Regions from separate parts of the Homo sapiens genome. Here region 2 is linked to region 1. The links are contacts of gene promoters, found by promoter capture Hi-C in blood cells and fetal thymus (Javierre and others, 2016). All regions are on one chromosome and are shown on one strand. Each heading gives the region's core, a stretch centred on a gene start or on the middle of the fragment in contact. The rest is flanking DNA. Distances are from core to core; before and after follow the strand shown. Region 1 holds the start of LINC02733 (long intergenic non-protein coding RNA 2733). Region 2 holds the start of TMEM258 (transmembrane protein 258).

Evidence for each region. The method cuts DNA at HindIII sites, captures the fragments that hold promoters and counts their contacts. A CHiCAGO score of 5 or more calls a contact.
Region 2: the fragment with the promoter of TMEM258 here is called in contact with a fragment that was not itself captured in region 1 in 17 of 17 cell types (neutrophils, naive CD4 T cells, total B cells and 14 more); the score reaches 14.7 in neutrophils.

What each region holds. Positions count from the first base shown.
Region 1 is chr11:62,080,275-62,085,997 of GRCh38, forward strand. It overlaps LINC02733 (long intergenic non-protein coding RNA 2733), which reads right to left and starts at 2,048. Exons shown (of 3, transcript NR_183616.1): 1 at 1,340-2,048. The HindIII fragment of the contact is 2,128 bases long and covers 1,429-3,556 here.
Region 2 is chr11:61,791,114-61,796,824 of GRCh38, forward strand. TMEM258 (transmembrane protein 258) reads right to left here and starts at 1,486. Exons shown (of 4, transcript NM_014206.4): 1 at 1,443-1,486. The coding sequence starts at 1,445. FEN1 (flap structure-specific endonuclease 1) reads left to right here and starts at 1,798. Exons shown (of 2, transcript NM_004111.6): 1 at 1,798-1,915; 2 at 4,228-5,711. The coding sequence starts at 4,249. The coding sequence ends at 5,391. MIR611 (microRNA 611) reads right to left here and starts at 1,448; the gene lies at 1,382-1,448. RefSeq lists enhancers at 734-1,711, 1,504-1,798, 1,712-2,687, 4,233-4,733. The HindIII fragment of the contact is 6,270 bases long and covers 1-1,878 here.

The DNA.
Region 1 (5,723 bases), core at 1,243-3,742:
CAGGATGGTCTCGATCTCCTAACCTCATGATCCGCCCACCATGGACTCCCAAAGTCTTAGGATTACAGGCGTGAGCCACCGCACCCTGCGGCTAATTTTTTTATGTTTCTTATAGAGACGAGATTTCACCATGTAGCCTAGGCTAGTTTCAAACTCCTGAGCTCAGGCCATTGACCTGGACCTCTCAAAGTGCTAAGATTACAGGCATGAGCCACCACTTGTGGCCATAGTAAAATGCCTAATGTGCTTAAATATACAGAGTGGAGTTTCACACCTTCAGGAAATATTTGGGAAAAAAAACAGAGATAGGTACAGAGAAAGCAAAGCAAACAAATAAAAAATAAGACCAGCATTGAATCTAGGAAAAATAAAAGGTGGGGCTGAGTGATGGGGGTGGGGAGAGGGCTAAACCCCCATTTCCAGAGTCAGAAGTCAGTAGGTGATGTCTGATAGTCACGTGCTGGTAAGTAGAATATGAATACGGTGTTATTTTAAGACATGGAAGTAAATCCCAAAGGAATTGACTAAAATATTTCAAGTTTTGATCTGGGGAGCAGGATAGAAGAGGGACTTGAACTACTGATTCTTAGATTATGTGCATGTACATCTTTGATGAAAAAGAAAGCAAAACCAGACAAAATTATATGCATTGATTCGAGAAAGTAGTCACAATATAATGTTAAGTTAAATAACAGGATATAAAAGGTATATTCAGTATAGTCTCATTTTGTACATTAAATTGGAGGAGCTGATAGAAAAAATAAGAAGAAAATATTTCTAAGTGAAAAGATTAAGCATATATATATATTTTTTTGAGACACAATCGTGCTCTGTTGCCCAGGCTGGAGTGCAGTGGCATAATCATAGCTCATTATAACCTCAAACTCCTGGACTCAAGCGATTCTCCCACCTCAGCCTCCCCAGTAGCTAGGACTGTAGGCACATACCACCACACCTGACTAATTTTTTAATTTTTTGTAGAGGAGGGAGTCTCACTATGTTACCCAGGCTGGTCTGGAACTCCTGGTCTCAATCGGTCCTCCCGCTTTGGCCTCCCTAAGTGCTGGGATTGCAGGCGTGAGCCACTGCGCCTCTTCAGAACTAGGTGTAATTTAATTTTCTTCTTTATATTTTCTTAGATTTTCTAATTTTTATTTTCAAATTAACATTTATTAATTTGTAGCTAGAAAGGAAAACTTCTACAGATTGTAGAGACCAGGTTTTGCCATGTAGCCCAGGCTAGTCTTGCACTTCTGAGCTCAAGCCATCTGCTCACCTGTGCCTGTGGCTGCCAGCTCTGCAAAACCCTTCCTGAGATCAAGAAGGGGAAGCAACTTACCCAGGTTCACTCAGGCAGGTTTTGTGAATCCAAAACCATTGCTCTTTTATAGCTTCCTGTTTCTCCACTTGGGATTTCTTCCAGCTGAAAGCTTACTCATTATATGAAGGCTCAGAGCTCCCAGGTCAATGTCATCTTCTTCATGGAGCTGTGCCTGGAGATGACGCCCCCTTTCTCTGCTCCATTAAACCCGGTGTCTTTCCTGCTGTGTGTGCCAGCGGCTGTGTTGTGGTTGTGGGTGTGCTTGCTTTCGAGTCTTCGTTCTGCTATAAGCCCCTTGGAAGTAAGGACCACACCTTAGGTATTTCCATCTCTCCTTATGCAGCATCCAGGTGCATCACTCACGTGCAGGAGGGATTGGCTGAACACAGAGGCAGGTTAACTCAAGAATAAACTTTATTATTTGCTTTTAGGTGCTGTAGTGTGACGTGAAGCAGGTAGCTCATAATTGTGAAGATAAACTTGTGGAGTAGGTGGGTTTTGAGGTCCAGTAGGAAGATAGGCCCCACACAATGGTAGTTTGATTATTAATCAGCGTGGAGCAGGTGAATCAGCTGTTGCATTCCCCGGGAAGAACGCGGGCTCGGCCGGCCTGTGCTGGACTCTGGCGCCCCCAAATGGTCACGTGGGTTTATTACACATCGGAAGTAAACAGCTTTTACTGATGATGAAGTAGTGACTGTCTTGGTAGCTCTCTAGAAGCTCATTCGCCTTCTCTTTAAAGTTACACTTCACAGAGGCAGGATAATCCATCCGGTCAAGGAGAAAGGAAAATCGGATTAGGGCTTCCAATAAACCTGTAATATTTTAGGTGTACCGCTGAGTCATAAATATCAGCTAAGTCTGTTGTATCATCACCTGTACTTCTTTTTGCGCATCTTAAAATACCATTTAAAATAACGAAAAAAATCTACAACTTAGCTCTAGAGTATCATGCCTCCAAAAGACACTGGGTTTAATTTTTAGATGTTTTCCCTTTTTCGTTGGAGGTAAAAATAAAATTCAGGATTATGTTTTTCAGACCTATGTTTGTTTTCATACTTGTAAAACCTACATATGTATCCATAAACACACAGAGTATTGATTTGTGTTTCAATTTTAAAAAATTGATGTCACACTGTACCATTCTGAAGGTCTTTTTTGTTTGTTTGTTTGTTTTTTGAGATGGAGTCTCGCTCTGTTACCCAGGCTGGCGTGCAGTGGCGTGATCTTGGCTTACCGCAACCTCTGCCTCCCAGGTTCAAGCGATTCTCCTTCCTCAGCCTCCTGAGTAGCTGGGACTACAGGTGCGTGCCACCACATCTGGCGAATTTTTGTATTTTTAGTAGAAATGGGGTTTCACCATGTTGGCCCTGGCTGGTCTTGAACTCCCAACCTCAAGTAATCTGCCCACCTTGGCCTCCCAAAGTTCTGAGATGATAGGCACGAGCCACCACACCTGGCCATATCTTGCTTTTATTGATCAACATTGTGTTTAAGAATTATTCATGTTGGTACATATATTTCTAGTTGATTCACGTTTACCGCTGAAAAATTCCTCGTATAACTATGCACGTATATATATGTGTGTGTGTGTGTGTGTATCTATATATATATATATATATTTTTTTTTTTTTTTGAGACACAGGTTGTACTGTTGCCCAGGCTGGAATGCAATGGCACAATCTCTGCTCACTGCAACCTCCACCTCCCAGGTTCAAGCGATTCTCCTGCCTCAGCCTCCCGAGTAGCTGGGATTACAGGTGCCTGCCACCATGCCTGGCTAATTTTTTGTATTTTTACTAGAGATGGGGTTTCGCCATCTCTCACTTAACTAAGGTGATCTGCCCGTCGAAGTGCTGGGATTACAGGGGTGAGCCACTGCGCCTGGACTTTTTTTTTTAAATTCATTAAAATAATAGAAAAATAGAGACAGGGTCTTTGTGTTGCCCAGGCTGGTCTCAAATAGCTGAGCTCAAGCAGTCCTCCAGCCTTGGCCTCCCAAAGTGCTGGGATTACAGGTGTGAGCCACTGTGCCTGGTCTTTATGATATCTTTTTGTATTCCAAAGTCATAAGATAGTCATTTAATTTTGAAAATTATTTTAAAAATTTGCTTTTTACATTTAGATGCTTAAATCCCCTTGATTTTATTTATGTAGTTGGTGCAAGGTGAATGCTTCTTTATCTGTATGGGTGACTTTCTCTTGGGCAGGGTACACATTTAAAAGCTCCGAGGAAGCTTTTAAAAGACCATTTCTGGGCCTCATCACAGAACAGATGAAATCAAAATTTCTGAGTGTGGACCTGAGACATCAGATTTAAAAAATAAAAACAAAACTCTCCCAGGCGTTTTTTAACATGGAGCCAGGGCTGAGAATCTTTGCTTTAAGGTCAGACCAAGAGTAGAGTTGCTGGGGTGTGTATTATTCGCATTGTCAGCTATACTGGATGTTGCTGGTGCTCTCTAAAGTGATTAAACTAGGCCGGGCGCAGTGGCTCACGCCTGTAATGCCTGCACTTTGGGAGGCCAAGATAAGCAGATCACCTGGGGTCTGGAGTTTGAGACCAGCCTGGCCAACATGGTGAAACCCCGTCTCTACTAAAAATACAAAAATTAGCCAGGCGTGGTGGCAGGCGCCTGTAATCCCAGTTACTTGGGAGGCTGAGGCACGAGAATTGCTTGAACTTGGGAGGCAGAGGTTGCAGTGAGTAGAGATTGCACTGTTGCACTCCAGCCTGGGCAACAAAGCGAGACTCTGTCTAAAATAAATAAATAAATAAATAAATAAAATAAAGTGATTAAACTATTTATGGTCCTCAAGTAGGAGAATTTCAATTGCTTCACACTTTTGAAAATACATGTTGTGATATTTATATAAAACCAAGAACCATGGATGAAAAAACATATATGTGTGTCTCATATATGTATGCATTTCATATACATATGTGTTATAAACATATATATGTCTTTCATATATATATATATAAAATGTTTTCACCCATGATTCTTGGCTTATAACTCCCATAGCTCTTGTTATTACAGTTTCTGTTATAATGTTAGGGCACTTTAGTTCTCACAAGCAGGCTTCAGGAAACAGAATCTCTCTCTCTCTCTCTGACCTTCTCCTGCCCACCTTTTACCTGCTCCTTTTTTCTCCCCACCTTTTACCTGCTTCTTTTCCTATCTTTCTGTCTAGGAGCTGGTCATGAGGAAATTCTCTGGCCTACTTTGATTGTAGGTCACAATACCCTCATTTCAGACAGGTCCTGCCCTATTCCCTGGAAGGAATGCTGCACAGAGAGACCAAGAAGAATCTGATCAGATGGGCCTTGTTGGGTTTCCCCATTCAGCCTGTTAGTGTTAGATCGTACCCAATCATATTTATTTTATTTATTTATTTATTTATTTATTTATTTATTTATTTATTTTTTGAGATGGAGTCTCACTCTGTCACCTAGGCTGGAGTGCAGTGACGTGATCTCGGCTCACTGCAACCTCCGCCTCCCGGGTTCAAGCAATTCTCCTGCCTCAGCCTCCCAGGTAGCTGGGATTACAGGCTCCCACTACCATGCCTGGCTAATTTTTGTATTTTTAGTAGAGACGGGGTTTCACCATATTGGCCAGGCTGATCTCGAACTCCTGACCTCGTGATCCGCCCGCCTTGGCCTCGCAAAGTGTTGGGATTACAGGCGTGAGCCATCATGCCTGGCAATAAATTATTTCTTCAAATATTGTGGGGATACAACTGCAGAGATCTCAGATTTCAACGTGTTTTTGTCCAATGCTTATACCATTCAGGTTATAACCATTTCAGAAAAGGTCTGTATAATTCTGGCAATTCATGTATGGCCTTGTAGTGTTAGGTTTTTAGGTGTATATGTGGGATATGTGTGGTTTAGGAAAAAAGCCTTGCAACTTTACAAAGCACTGGACATACACTAGCTAGCCTTCTCTTCACTCCTGTCATTACTGATCTGTTTTCCCCATTTTAGTAAATGGTCAAGATTTACCCCTAGAGAAAGAGTCAGCTTGTGGCCAAATTCATGTTTGATAGATCTTCTCAGCTCTAAAACTGAAAGGGAGAAACTTCAGACAGCAGAAAGAGAAAACAAACAAGCAGGGTGGGTGAAATAATTTCCTATGGTTGTTGAAACAAATTACCACAAATTTCGTGGTTTAAAACAACACAAGGCTGGGCTCAGTGGTGCATGCCTGTAATCCCAGCACTTTGGGGGGCCGAGGTGAGAAAATTGCTTGAGCTCAGGAGTTTGAGACCAGCCTGGCAACACAGTGAGACCTTGTCTCTAAAAAATAAAGAAAGAAAGAAGAAAAAGAAAAAAATTCCAAAAACCAAAACCACCCCACACATTTATTATCTTATAGTTCTGGGGTCAGAGGTCCAA
Region 2 (5,711 bases), core at 236-2,735, 290 kb before region 1:
CACATCTAATTTTTGTATTTTTAGTAGAGATGGGGTTTTGCCATGCTGGCCAGGATGGTCTTGAATTCCTGACCTCAGGTGATCTGCCTGCCTCGGCCTCCCAAAGTACTGAGATTACAGGTGTGAGTTGCCGCGCCCAGGCTCAATTTTTTTTTTTTTCCAGACAGTCTTGCTCTATCGCCCAGGCTGGAGTGCCTGGAGTGCAGTGGTGCCAACTCGGCTCACTGCAAGCTCCGCCTTCTGGGTTCAAGTGATTATCCTGCCTCAGCCTCCCGAGCAGCTGGGATTACAGGCGTGAACCACCATGCCCGGCTAATTTTTTGTATTTTTAGGAGAGACAGGGTTTCACCTTGCTGGCCAGGCTGGTCTTGAACTTCTGACCTCCTGATCCGCTCGCCTCAGCCTCCCAAAGTGCTGGGATTACAGGAGTGAACCACCGCGCCTGGCCCTCAATTTCTAATTCAGTATTTTCCTCACTACCTATGCTATTATGGAATCTTGTGAGCTATGGTCAAGACATTCAAGTTCTGGTTCTGAGTAATCTGAGTCTGAGTAAAGCGACTGTAATATCTATTTCACAGAACTGAAAAATAAGAAAGATGATGAATCAAAGCATCTAGTGCCTAGCAGGGAGTATTTTGCTCAACAGGTATTTGCTTCCTTCCTAAGGCTGTAGGGAAGATGATGAGATAATGTCTTTTATGAAAGAGGGCTGTAAACGTAAAGATCTGTACAAATGTTAACTTCATTGTCACCGGTCAGCCAATGCTTCTAAAATCCAGAACATAACAACTCTAGAGAAGTAAACTGCCCCCATTGTTCTGAGACACTGGAATTCAATTCAGTAAACAATCACGGCCCCCTTCCCCCAAAATGATAAAGACAATCACTGCCATTTATTGAGCTTCCAATTACGGGCCCTCTGTTTGGCACTGAGAATACAAAGATGAATAGACATCATCCCAGAGCTAGATGCGCGTCAGACGGTGGTCACTAGGAGGCGTGGCCGAAAACAAAGAAGTCCATGGAACGTGGCCAGAGATCTGTACAGAGGCTGTGGGCGCTCCTAGGAAAGTCTGGCCAAGTGCCTGAGAGTTGGAAGTGCTTCACCAATAAACATTTGCCCAGGGCATTGTAGGATGGGCACGGGTTCGGCAGAAGAACTTTCCAAATAAAGATAACACACCACCGATAACAGAGATATACAAACTGGAAGGTATTCAAAATTCGCCCCACGCCTCTCGCCCTTAGAAATCGCGAGCTGAGAAACCTAAGGAGTTCATGGCAAGGGGCTTCCCCCTTCCCCACCCTTCAGCCCAAGCCGGAGGTTCCAGGAGCGTCTAGCCCTCTGGATCTCCGGCGTCTGAGGAGATAAGCGCGGTGTGGGTCAGACCCCGAGGGGTCCTCGCATCTCCGTCTGGAACTCCCCTCAACGCTCTCACCATTTTGCCCCGCGAAGGCTAATCCGCCGCTCCGCCACCGGAAGAACACGTCGGCAGGAGCAGGCGCCTAGCACAACCGGAAAAGGAAGTGCCTCCGGCGCAAGTGGCATTGAGGGACTTGTAGTCCTGCGATTTCGGGTGTAGAGGGAGCAGGGGCCTGCGGGGACCTGGTGTGGGTGGAGTGGGGACAAGCGGTGGAGAAGGGTACGCCAGGGTCGCTGAGAGACTCTGTTCTCCCTGGAGGGACTGGTTGCCATGAGAGCAGCCGTCTGAGGGGACGCAGCCTGCACTACGCGCCCCAAGAGGCTGTGCGTGGCGAGCAGGTCACGTGACGGGAGCGCGGGCTTTGGAAGGCGGCTGAACGTCAGGCCACCCGCCGCTAAGCTGAGAAGGGAGAGCGAGCTTAGGACCGCCTGCCCGGGGCAACCCCGAACCAAGCTTTAGCCGCCGAGGCCGCGTGTCCCAAAGGCCAGGTGAGACCCCATGGGAAGCGCCTCCGGGAGCGACGGGGTCCGCTTGGCGCTGGGGGCCGTGGGGAGCCGGGGTCTGGAGTGCGCGGGATTCGCAGTCAAGAGGTCCCGCCACTTTTCCCCCTGTGAGCCTTGGGCCAGTCGCGTAAGCTCCGAGCCTCTCTTTCCTCCATTGTAGAAAAGCGGTAATAAGTTCCACCTTATGGGGTCGTGTTGTATTTTTCCTAAGACCTTGGACGAGAAACATTTCTGACACTTGAGTTGTTTAGGCCCCTTTCCTGCCTACCTGTCTGTGGGACGCCGTGAGGGGATCAAGGGCTACATGGTCTGGTCCTCAGTCCACACTCCAGCAGCGCGGCCGGCTTGAGGCAAGAGCCGAAGGGTTGAACAGGCCTGGAGAGGGGACATTAGAGGTTTCTGTCTGTTGTCTCAGTTAACCCTGGCAGCAGCCCTGAGAGACAGGCATGGTAATCGTTCTTCTTCTGTAGACGAGAAAATAAACCTCAGTGGCTTGGTAATGTCACACGGATGGTAAATGCCGCGCCTAGATTCAAGGCCAGAGCTTTTGCCGCTGCAGTTCACAGGGGAATTATTCATATTAATCAAATGAATAATTCATTGTCAATTAATTATTAATTGATTAATAATCCAGGGATGGACCTGGAAGGACGCGTGAGAGGATGGCGAGAGGAGGGCACAGCTAAGGAAAAGTGGGAAAAGGCGGGCCTTATTCCAGCTTTCTGTTGAGATCCCAGAATGTAGGGTTAGGTTGGGAACCAGAACATGAAAGATCGTGATGCCATGCTGAAGTGTTTGGACTGAATTAGAAGGAAGAATTGAACAGTCATTGATGCTCTAGAAAGAACCCTGTGAAGAAAGAGTGGGAACAATGAAAAGGCCTGATGGAGTCTTTCGTTTCTTCTTTCTCTTTTCTTTTGTCTTCTTTTCTTTTCTTGACAGGGTCTTGCTCTGTTGCCCAGGCTGGAGTGTGGTGGCACAATCATAGCTCACTGTAGCCTGGAACTCCTGGGCTCATGTGATCCTCCCACCACGGCCTCCCAAAGTGCTGGGATTACTGCCCAGAGCCTCTGTGCCTGGCCCCAGTAGAATATTTCTTGGAGTATTGGACACATACCAACAGTGGGCACAAGATGAGTTTTTTATTTTTTTGAGACGGAGTCTCACTCTCTTGCTAGGCTGGAGTGCAGCGGCACAATCTCGGCTCACTGCATTCTCTGCCTCCTGGGTTCAAGCGATTCTCCTGCCTCAGCCTCCCGAGTAGCTGGGATTACAGGTGCACACCACCACACCCAGCTAATTTTTTTTTTTTTTGTATTTTTAGTAGAGACAGGGTTTCACCGTGTTGGCCAGGATGGCAAGATGATTTTAAATTGCACCCCCTAAAAATCCTTTTTAATAGTTATACATTTAATACATATTAAAATATAACTAATAGAACACAAATATTATTGCTTATGAGTTTTCCAGTTTAGTTTTTTAAAAAAAATTCTAAGTGAATGAAAGTACGGGTTTTAGTTGGAAGTAGCAAAAATCGTGAGGGTGATTTGGGAAACACTGCTATCTGGGAAACACTGAACTCTGAAGTGCAATACTCTTTTGAGCCCAGTGACTACAGCATGCCAGACCCCTAAATCAGGACCTGGGGAGGAGCCATGGAGTTAACATTTCAGACTGAGTGGTGGCGAGAAAACGCAAAGGGAAAGACTTGAAACTCTAGCAACATTATAATAAAAGTAGAAACTCTTATGTGCTGAGGCGATGATGAAGAGAGTTTAGAGAAGCTTGTGAGAAAGCCACATCACCTCCATTCAGATATGTTTGCAATCCTTTTTCAAGGCTGCCTTATTAGTCAGGGTTCTCCAGAGACTCAAAACAAATCAGATCTGTTTGTTTAGCTGGTGTATTTGCCTGTCTTTCAGGTCTGCCATTATGGTCCCTGGACTCCTCAAGCCAGGCCAAGCATCCTGGCCTTCTGTGGTCCTTGATGGAGACCTATGTTGCAGGTTTTTTTTGTGTAATAAATAATGCTGCTACCTTAGAATATCAACAGTATCTTATTTCTCTAAGCACGTGGTTCAATTTCTGGTACTCGTTGAGCCTTACTATTGAGTAAATTCTCCTGCTAGACTGAGTTTTTTGAGAATGGGGACCTTGTTCATCTTTTTATCTTTAGCAGTGCTGACATGGTGTCCTTTTTGTTGTGTGGAATTTAGTTGAAGGCATGAAGTTGGTGAGATAACACCAGTTATAACCTTTCTCCTTTCCTCCGTCTCTGACTTGCCTTTCTTTTTTAGTCATCCCTCCTCTGTGTTGCCATGGGAATTCAAGGCCTGGCCAAACTAATTGCTGATGTGGCCCCCAGTGCCATCCGGGAGAATGACATCAAGAGCTACTTTGGCCGTAAGGTGGCCATTGATGCCTCTATGAGCATTTATCAGTTCCTGATTGCTGTTCGCCAGGGTGGGGATGTGCTGCAGAATGAGGAGGGTGAGACCACCAGCCACCTGATGGGCATGTTCTACCGCACCATTCGCATGATGGAGAACGGCATCAAGCCCGTGTATGTCTTTGATGGCAAGCCGCCACAGCTCAAGTCAGGCGAGCTGGCCAAACGCAGTGAGCGGCGGGCTGAGGCAGAGAAGCAGCTGCAGCAGGCTCAGGCTGCTGGGGCCGAGCAGGAGGTGGAAAAATTCACTAAGCGGCTGGTGAAGGTCACTAAGCAGCACAATGATGAGTGCAAACATCTGCTGAGCCTCATGGGCATCCCTTATCTTGATGCACCCAGTGAGGCAGAGGCCAGCTGTGCTGCCCTGGTGAAGGCTGGCAAAGTCTATGCTGCGGCTACCGAGGACATGGACTGCCTCACCTTCGGCAGCCCTGTGCTAATGCGACACCTGACTGCCAGTGAAGCCAAAAAGCTGCCAATCCAGGAATTCCACCTGAGCCGGATTCTGCAGGAGCTGGGCCTGAACCAGGAACAGTTTGTGGATCTGTGCATCCTGCTAGGCAGTGACTACTGTGAGAGTATCCGGGGTATTGGGCCCAAGCGGGCTGTGGACCTCATCCAGAAGCACAAGAGCATCGAGGAGATCGTGCGGCGACTTGACCCCAACAAGTACCCTGTGCCAGAAAATTGGCTCCACAAGGAGGCTCACCAGCTCTTCTTGGAACCTGAGGTGCTGGACCCAGAGTCTGTGGAGCTGAAGTGGAGCGAGCCAAATGAAGAAGAGCTGATCAAGTTCATGTGTGGTGAAAAGCAGTTCTCTGAGGAGCGAATCCGCAGTGGGGTCAAGAGGCTGAGTAAGAGCCGCCAAGGCAGCACCCAGGGCCGCCTGGATGATTTCTTCAAGGTGACCGGCTCACTCTCTTCAGCTAAGCGCAAGGAGCCAGAACCCAAGGGATCCACTAAGAAGAAGGCAAAGACTGGGGCAGCAGGGAAGTTTAAAAGGGGAAAATAAATGTGTTTCCCCATTATACCTCCTTCACCCCAGAATATTTGCCGTCTTGTACCCTTAAGAGCTACAGCTAGAGAAACCTTCACGGGGTGGAGAGAGGATTCTAAGGCTTTTCTAGCGTGACCCTTTTCAGTAGTGCTAGTCCCTTTTTTACTTGATCTTAATGGCAAGAAGGCCACAGAGGTACTTTTCCTTTTTTAGCTCAGGAAAATATGTCAGGCTCAAACCACTTCTCAGGCAGTTTAATGGACACTAAGTCCATTGTTACATGAAAGTGATAGATAGCAACAAGTTTTGGAGAAGAGAGAGGGAGATAAAAGGGG